Linked DNA regions of Homo sapiens: region 1 is linked to region 2. Evidence: promoter capture Hi-C in 16 types of primary human blood cells and fetal thymus (Javierre and others, 2016). All regions are on one chromosome and are shown on one strand. The core of a region is centred on a gene start or on the middle of the fragment in contact, and the rest is flanking DNA. Distances in the headings are between cores, read along the strand shown.

What was found. Contacts are between HindIII fragments. The CHiCAGO score rates a contact against its expected background, and 5 or more counts as called.
Region 1: a fragment that was not itself captured here is called in contact with the fragment with the promoter of ALDH4A1 in region 2 in 4 of 17 cell types (naive CD4 T cells, naive CD8 T cells, total CD8 T cells and 1 more); the score reaches 5.9 in naive CD4 T cells.

The regions. Positions count from the first base shown.
Region 1 is chr1:18,971,880-18,975,875 of GRCh38, reverse strand. All of the region lies in intron 2 of LOC105376815 (a long non-coding RNA gene), which reads left to right. Among named protein-coding and RNA genes, the nearest start is that of IFFO2, 17 kb to the right of the region's middle. The HindIII fragment of the contact is 6,746 bases long and covers 1-3,996 here.
Region 2 is chr1:18,901,087-18,905,202 of GRCh38, reverse strand. ALDH4A1 (aldehyde dehydrogenase 4 family member A1) reads left to right here and starts at 2,648. Exons shown (of 15, transcript NM_003748.4): 1 at 2,648-2,741. The coding sequence starts at 2,680. It overlaps LOC124903866 (a long non-coding RNA gene), which reads right to left and starts at 3,090. Exons shown (of 2, transcript XR_007065519.1): 1 at 2,951-3,090; 2 at 1,832-2,393. IFFO2 (intermediate filament family orphan 2) reads left to right here. Exons shown (of 9, transcript NM_001136265.2): 9 at 1-923. RefSeq lists enhancers at 1,595-2,412, 2,352-2,581 and a silencer at 2,662-2,881. The HindIII fragment of the contact is 9,883 bases long and covers 2,352-4,116 here.

The DNA.
Region 1 (3,996 bases), core at 468-2,967, 72 kb before region 2:
AGACGGGGTCCCAAGGATTCCCGTGAGTCACTGGAAGTGCCTACACTGAGGATAAGGGCCGGTTTGGCTGGGTGCGTTGGCTCATGCCTGTAATCCTAGCACTTTGGGAGGCTGAGGCAGGCAGATTGCTTGAGCCTGGGAGTTTGAGACCAGCCTGGGCAACATGGCAAAACTCTATCTCTACAAAAAATACAAAAATTAGCCTGGCGTGGTAGCGTGAGCCTGTAGTCCCAGCTACTGGGGAGGCTGAGGTGGGAGGATAGCTTGAGTCCGGGAGGTCGAGGCTGTAGTGAGCCGTGATCACACCACTGTACTCCAGCCTGAGAGACAGAGAGAGATCTTTTCCCAATAAATAAATAGATAAATAAATAAAAGAGCTGGGTGAAGTAAAGACTTACAATTGTCCCCCTTATCTGAGAGGGCTACATTCCAAGACCCCCAGTGGATGCCTGAAACTGCAGATAGTACTAAACCCTATATATACTGTGTTTTTTTCTATACATACATACCTATGATAAAGTTTAATTTATAAGTTAGGCACAGTAAGATATTAACAACAGTAAAAGTAAAAGAGAATAATTATAACCGTATCCTGTGATAAAAGTTACGTAAATGTGATCTTTCTCGTTCCCTCAACAACTCTTATTGTGCTGTACATATTCACCTGTGTTCAGGCCACTGTTGACCAGGGGTAACCAAAACTGCGGAAGGTGAAGCTACAGGGAAGGGCGGATGACAGTACTTTGTGCCTGGCTCTGTGTGCAAAGCACTTTCCAGTGCTTGTTCATCCTCATGGCCACTCTGTGAGACAGGATGCTACTATTCCCATTTTACTGAAGCTCAGAGAGGTGAAGTGCCTTGCCCAAGGTTATACAGCTATTAAGTTGTGAGGTTCACATTTGAACCCAGGGCCGGAGCTCTTCGCTATGGTGTTATACCCGGGCTTTCAGGCCTGTTTTGCAGCTGACCCACCTCCTTTCCATTTAGACGGATGGGGACTCTGGTTTGACTGGGGAGGCTCGGCCTTGCTCTGCCTCCTGCTACCTTGGCCCCCAGCCCAGCTGCGAGGACACCATTCAGGCATGTCTTTGGCTGGGTTTTTTTTTTTTTTTTTTAACAGATTTATGTTTAGCAGGGAAGCCCACTCACAGGAGAGAGGCTGGGGCTGGACCAGGAACAAGGACGCTGCTGTGGCCTTGTTTGAGGTCCCACTGACTCAGGAACAAGGCAAGCCTCTTAGTCTGTTTCCTGGCTCATAAACCAGTGTTTATAGGGTACTCTTCTCTGATTTCCTTCCCTTCCTTCCTCTCTCTCTCTCTTTCTTTCTTTCCTTTCTTTTTATTTTATTTTTTTTTTATTTTTTGAGATGGAGTCTCTCTCTGACGCTCCGGCTGGAGTGCAGTGGCATGATCTTGGCTCACCACCACCTCTGCCTTCCAGGTTGAAGCGATTCTCTTGCCTGAGCCTTCCGAGCAGCTGGGATTACAGGGACCCACTACCATGCCTGGCTATTTTTTTTTGTTGTTGTTGTATTTTTAGTACGACGGGGTTTTACCATATTGGCCAGGCTGGTCTCAAACTTCTGACCTCAAGTGATCCACCTGCCTCGACCTCCCAAAGTGCTAGGATTACAGACGTGAGCCATGGCGTCCGGCCTGTCCTCTGATTTTCAAGGGGCTGGAAGGGACACCGCAGGGGCAGCTCCTGGCATGGCCCTGGGACCCCCGTGAGAAAGCAGACTTGTACTTGGGCAGGCTAGTACAAGTTTGCTTGTGCTCAGTTTGCTTGATTCAGCTGGGAGCAGGGGTAGGGTGGAGGTGAGGAGGAAAAAGATGGGAGGGAACTCACCTTTACTGAGTATCTATCCCATATCTGACACTGCATTAGGCACTGGGGAGTTGTCCCCTTAGGCAAGAGCCAGTCTCCAGTCCCACAGAACCCCTGATCGATCAACTCCAGGGTGTGTGGGAGGGGAAAGAAACTGACAACTGCAAATACAGTGCAGTATAACAGCAAAAATTTATCGAGCACTTACTATGTGCAGGGGTTTCACGGGTGTTATTCAATCCTAACACTGATGCCAGGCACAATCTACTGTCACTGCACCCATTTTACAGATGAAGCAGCTGAGGCAAAGAGAGGCTCAGTCACTTGTCTAAGAACACACAGTTAGAACTAGGAGGAGCCAGACTGGAACCCAGGCTGTTTGGCTCCAGAACTTGCAGTCTAAGCTGCCCGTTCTACGGTCTTATCAATAACAGGAGGCACGGAGGCAGCACGGGGGACAGATCTCCTCTGTTGGGAGTGAGACTGGAGAACACAGTGGTTTCCATACTGATGCCTGATTGAGGCTTTGAAAAATGAATAGGAGTTAGGTATAAAAGAGGCAGGGAGGGTTTTCAGCAGAAGGAACAGCCTGTGTAAAGGTAGAATCCTGAGCTAGCACATTAGGCTGGGGAAGTTGTAACTGGTAGTGATATTACTTGGGGACGGGTTTGGGAGTTACAATTCAGGATCGCTGGAGCATCAAACATAAGCAAGGGAGAGGTGAGGTGAGGCTGGAGACCAGGCTCAAGCCGCAGAGGACCTCTCCTGTCCTGCTAAAGTGTGTGAACTTTGTATAAGACACAGTTCCCTCCCCAGGGGCCTGTCCTGAGCTTGAGGAGACGAGCCACATTATTAGGAAATGATGATGAATCCACGGCTTCCTCCCATAGAGTGAGGGCAGAAGAGGAAGGGCTGCAGTCCCAGCTACTCGAGAGGATGAGGCGGCAGCATCTCTTGAGCCTAGGACTTCAAATCCAGCCTGGACAACATAGAGAGATATCATCTCTTAAAAAATAAAAATAAAAAATAAAAATAAAAAAGAGAGATAGTGGGAAGTGTGTGGGGGACATGCAGAACGGAGCGGGTGTGAGTTGTGGAAAGAAAGCTCAGTAAAGCATATGTTATTTTTAGCCCTGTGTATCCTCCTGCCCCTTTCAAATCTAACTTGATTTCAAATCCCTGCTTGCTGCTGACTAGCTGTGTGACCTTGGGGAAGCCACTGAACCTCGCTGAGCCTTAGTTTCCTCCTCACCTATAAACTGGGTGGAAATAAATGATGACAATCTCCCAGAGTTTCAGTGACGAGTTCACTGGATCTTTGCCATATCACCAAGATCTTTGCCATATTAGCTAACCACCTCCACCAGGAGGTGGCAAACTCTTTCCATAAAGGATTAAATAATAAATATTTTAGACTTTGCAGCCCATTGTCTGTTGCAACTACTCAACTGTGCCATTGTAGCAGGAAAGAAGCCTTACACAAGAAGTAAACTAATGAACCTGGATGTATGCCAATTAAACTTTATTTATGGACCCTGAAATTTGAACTTCATATATTTGTCACTACCACAAAATATTATTATTTTTAGAGACAGGGTCTTGTTGTGTCACCCAAGCTGAAGTGTGTGGTGTGCTCATAACTCACTGTAACCTCAACCTCCTGGGCTCAAGTGATCCTCCCACCTCAGCCTCCCAGGTAGCTGGGACCACAGATGTACTCCACCATGCCCAACTAATTTTTAAATTGTTTGTAGCAATGGTGTCTTGCTATGTTGCCTAGGCTGGTCTTGAACCCCAGGCCTCAAGCTATCCTCCTGCCTCAGCCTTCCAAAATGCTGGGATTACAGGTGTGAGTCACCATGGCTGACTCACACAAAATAGTATTCTTCCTTTGATCTTTGTTCCAGCCATTAAAAAATGTAAAATCCATTTTTTTTTTTTTTGAGGCAGAGTCTCGCTCCATCACCAGACTGGAGTGCAGTGGTGTGATCTCGGCTCACTGCAACCTCTGCCTCCCGGGTTCAAGCAATTCTCCTGCCTCAGCCTCCCAAGTAGCTGGGACTAAAGGTGACCGCCACCACGCCCAGCTAATTTTTGTATTTTTAGTAGAGATGGGGTTCCACCATGTTGAGCAGGATGGTCTCGATCTCTTGACCTGGTGATCTGCCT
Region 2 (4,116 bases), core at 1,399-3,898:
CTCCTTGGAAGTCTTGGGGTGGGGATCTGAGGGGGTGGGTGGGCTGCAGGAAATTCAGAAATGTGGTGGGTGGGGGAAGGGACAAGGCGCATTAGGGAGGGAACAAGCTGGGCTCTGGGGATAGGCTCTGATTAATTAGTTACTCTGACTCTGGTCTGCCGAGATCCATTTCCAACCCAGTTGCGTTGGGAGAGGGTTGGGAGGCAGCAGAGCATGGGTGACAGTGGGAGCACACGACTTCCTTGGAGCCTGGGCCTTTGCGGGTCCCAGGTGGTCAGGCAGCTGGAGCAGAAGTGGAAATGGCTTAAGATGCTCATAGCCCAGCCCCGGCTGTGTCTACTCCAGGCCAAGCCTGGGCTGCAGTCCTTGCTATGTTCCCCCCAGGGCCCTGGGGGGAGGGATCAGGGTGCTGGGGGTTTCCTAGGACAGGGGTCTTCCCCCTTGAGACACCAAGCTCTGGCTCTAGAAGAGCTCTCTCCTGGAGTGGGGAGTCTGGAGGGGACTGGGTGGGTGCAGGTAAAGCCAGATTCTCTCTGGAAGGGAATTTTCTATGAATGGATGATTTCCAGGCTCAGGGTGGGCTGTGTGTTAGTTCTGAGCAAATCCCTCACCAAGACCCTTCCCTCCCAAGCCCTCAAAGAAATGAGGCAAAGCCCTTCCCTGCAAGACCCCTTGTGGATGTTTTTGCATCTACCTGATTTTTAGCCCCACCCAGGGAGACTTTATACCCCATGATCCTGCCCCACCGTTGCTGTTGTCTGCCAGCTGGGTCTAGCATCACAGGGAAGGGGGGGATTTATACTCATGGAAAGACTACTGATCCTACCGGAAACCAACCTGTTTACTGTACTGTTGTAAATATCATGCCCTTTATATCCTGTATATTGGCTTCTTTTAAATAAAGTGAAATGTCTTAGAACTGATGGTGCTTTTTTTTGTTTTTGTTTTTAAACAGAAGATGAATCTGGTGTTGGGGGAGGGGTAGGAGGACGGAAGGCCACAGAAACCCTCAAACTCATTAGTTAATTAGCCATAAAATAGGGGATTTCATATCACCTGTTACATTTGTAGCTCACAATAAAAGCTTTGGAAGATGACAAAGCAGGAATCATTACACACATTTTACTGAAGGGGAAGAGAGGACATGAGACATCACAGGCTCAGTAACTGGCTTGGCCTGGTTTGGAACTGATGTCCTTTTAACCACAAAGCCCCCATTTTTCCAGGCTCTCCAACGTGCCCACAGGAGGTCACCTTCCCAGGCTCTGGATTTGACAGTAACCAATGTTCTAGTTTTTCTTGTCAATGGGCATGTTCAGGGCAACATTGCCCAAATGTGAACTGAGCCCACCTGTCTAGGGTTTTCTCCAAAGGTGAAGACAAATAGCCGCCACCAATTCCAATTTGCTTTTTGCCATTCCTAATACTTGGCATTTAGGTAATCTCCCTCTCCTACTCTTCATTTAAATGTTTACATTCTCCCAAAGTACCTCAAATGGTGTAATCTGGAGAAAAATAAGTGGCTTAAGATCACGGGGGCTTTGTGAGTTGGGTACTATTACTTCCGTTTTACAGATGAGGAAACTGAGGCCCGGAAAGGATATGTAGTCTGCCTAGTGCCCTGCTTGAGGAACCAAAATCAGCATGGGAACTGACTCCTAAGCAGGTGCGCGGTTCATGCTGCTGGAAGAAATATAAACAAATTAGAACAGAGAGTAAGGAAACGTAACATTACTTTAGGAATAGATTGGGTCCCTGAGACCTCGTCATCAGAGAAGACTTCAGAATCCAAGTTTTAAATAGCATTCTAGTGTTTACCAAGCACACAACATTTTGCAAAGAAAGCTGAAATTTTTACTTGGGGGTAAAAGGCTCAGGAACAACTGGTTTTGCGGCCAAAGGCTTTAAATGAAAAGCTAAGCGTTGGCCAGCTCAGGTTTTATCTTGCATTGATCGTAATCTGCAAGGAAGCTAAGAAGCTGGCCGGCCCCGCGCCTGGAGGGTAGGTGGAGAGCGGCTGGGTCCTGGCCAAGAAGCTGGAAGGCAGGCTCATTCCAGGGGCCGCAGCCCCCGGGAAGAAGCAGGGGGCTGGCCGCGCTGTGGCCCTGCGGGGTCGAGGAGTCTGGTAGCGGACAGGTTTCCAGCCTTGTACAAGCCACCGGCAGCCCGAGAGAAGTCAGTCGGACTCCCATCGAACCCGGGGCGCACGCCAGAGGGCCGGACGCAGCGAGTCCTTCTGCCCCGCTTCAGCACGTGTCCCATTTCGGTTATCTCATTGGCTCTATTCAGCCCCTCTCTGCTCCGCTTTGGAAGGCTGCCGCAGGACCGCCCCGCTGATTGGTTCAGAAGCTTTGGTGTGTCACTCTGACTGGTCGACAGAGTTCACGCCCTCTCTCCCGGGTCATACCATAAAGAGAGGAGGGGAAAACGCATGCATTTCAGGACTTCGCTTTCGGGTTCCCTTGTCCTGTGTTGTGTAATGCCCCCGTTATGGCACTAGAAATATTTTTTATTAGCCGAAGCTAAATATAGTGGGACTTTGGCTGATCCCGAGCTCGGAGGACAGCCGGGGTGATCCGTTTCCCCCCGAGGATCGAGGTGGTGCGCTCTGGACGGGGTTGTGCATTCTCGCCGCGCCCGGGCGGACGATCCAGCGAACAGCCCCGCTTCTAACCCGAGATGCTGCTGCCGGCGCCCGCGCTCCGCCGCGCCCTGCTGTCCCGCCCCTGGACCGGGGCCGGGTGAGTGAGCACGGGGCCCGGGGCGGCCCGAGCGCGCGCCTGGGGCCCGGGAGCCTGAGAGTCACTGGGCGTCCCCCGCGCCGCACTCCCTCCCTGCCGGACCCCCAAGCTGCCTCGGTCAACGCCGGGTTCCTCAGGGGCTCCCCTCCGACCCCCACCCAGGCCTTTCTCCCACTGAGATCCCTTAGCCTCCTCCCTCAGGTAGTCACCTTCCTTTAGCGAGGGGACCCCTCTTCCCGAATCCTGCGACCGAGTAGGGTGCCTCGGTGGCCCTGCCGGTTCCCACGCTCGGAAAGTAGCCTCTGTAGTCACTCACCTCACTCCTAATACTGGATCTTCGCAATTTGCTGGCTTCCCCTGAGGGGCCCTTCTATTTTTAGCACACCACACATCTCACTTCCCCACCCTCGTCTCACGTTCAGTGTCCCCATCCCGCCCCGGATTCCCCGAGTCCTCTCCTTCTACCAGGATTTCTACCTCTCTCTTTTCCGCTCCCCACACACCCCGCCGCCCGTTTTTTTTTTTTTTTTTCAAGTTAAATGTTGGACAGAAAAAAGGATTCCTTTCTTCTTGTAGGTGGAATAATCATATTTATAGAGTGCTTATAATGAACCAAATGCTGGCCGGGCAATTGGCAGGTGTCTTATGAGGATTAAATGAGTTAATACATGGGGAGTGCACTGAACAGTGCCCAGCACAAAGGCAGCGCCCGGTTATTATTATTGCCACGATCATCATCATTATCACCTCTATTTAAACTTCTCACTCCTGTGAGGCAGGTCATTATTCCAAATAATGAAGAAACCCAGGAGCAGTTCAGGGGTGGACCTGCCCTTCAAATCCCGATTTGCAAACCTGACATTGTGGAGCCAGGTGCCTGGACCCTTGCCCACTCAATGACAAATATTCTCAGAGCCCCTCCAGCTCGGAGCTAGGTTTGGAGAGGTAGGTGGGACACAGACCCTGCCCCAGAGGGGTTCCTAGTCTGGTGGGGCTGCCCACCTGTGGATCAGCCCCCCCTCCCATTTGAGGTTTGTTTGCTTGACCCCTGGGGCTGTTAGTGGCAGTGTCTTTCCTGATGAGCTGTGCCCTTTCTGAGTTAATCAGTGGCCCTCTCCCTTCCCCCAAGGGATGGCATGGTGGTGCTCTGAGCACAAGTGAGTTGCAACACTGCTGTGTGTCCTCTGTGGGTGAAGAGGGGATAGGAAAGGGCGCAGGAAGAGGACATGGGACAGAGGGGTTCCTCTTCTAGGCTGAGACTGGGGCCACACTTGCCATACTCCCTGTGTGATCCCGTTTGCAGGCCTTCCCTGCACTCTGAGACTCAGGAAGATGGAGCTTATAGAGTCCTGTGTTTACTGAGTGCCTACTGTGA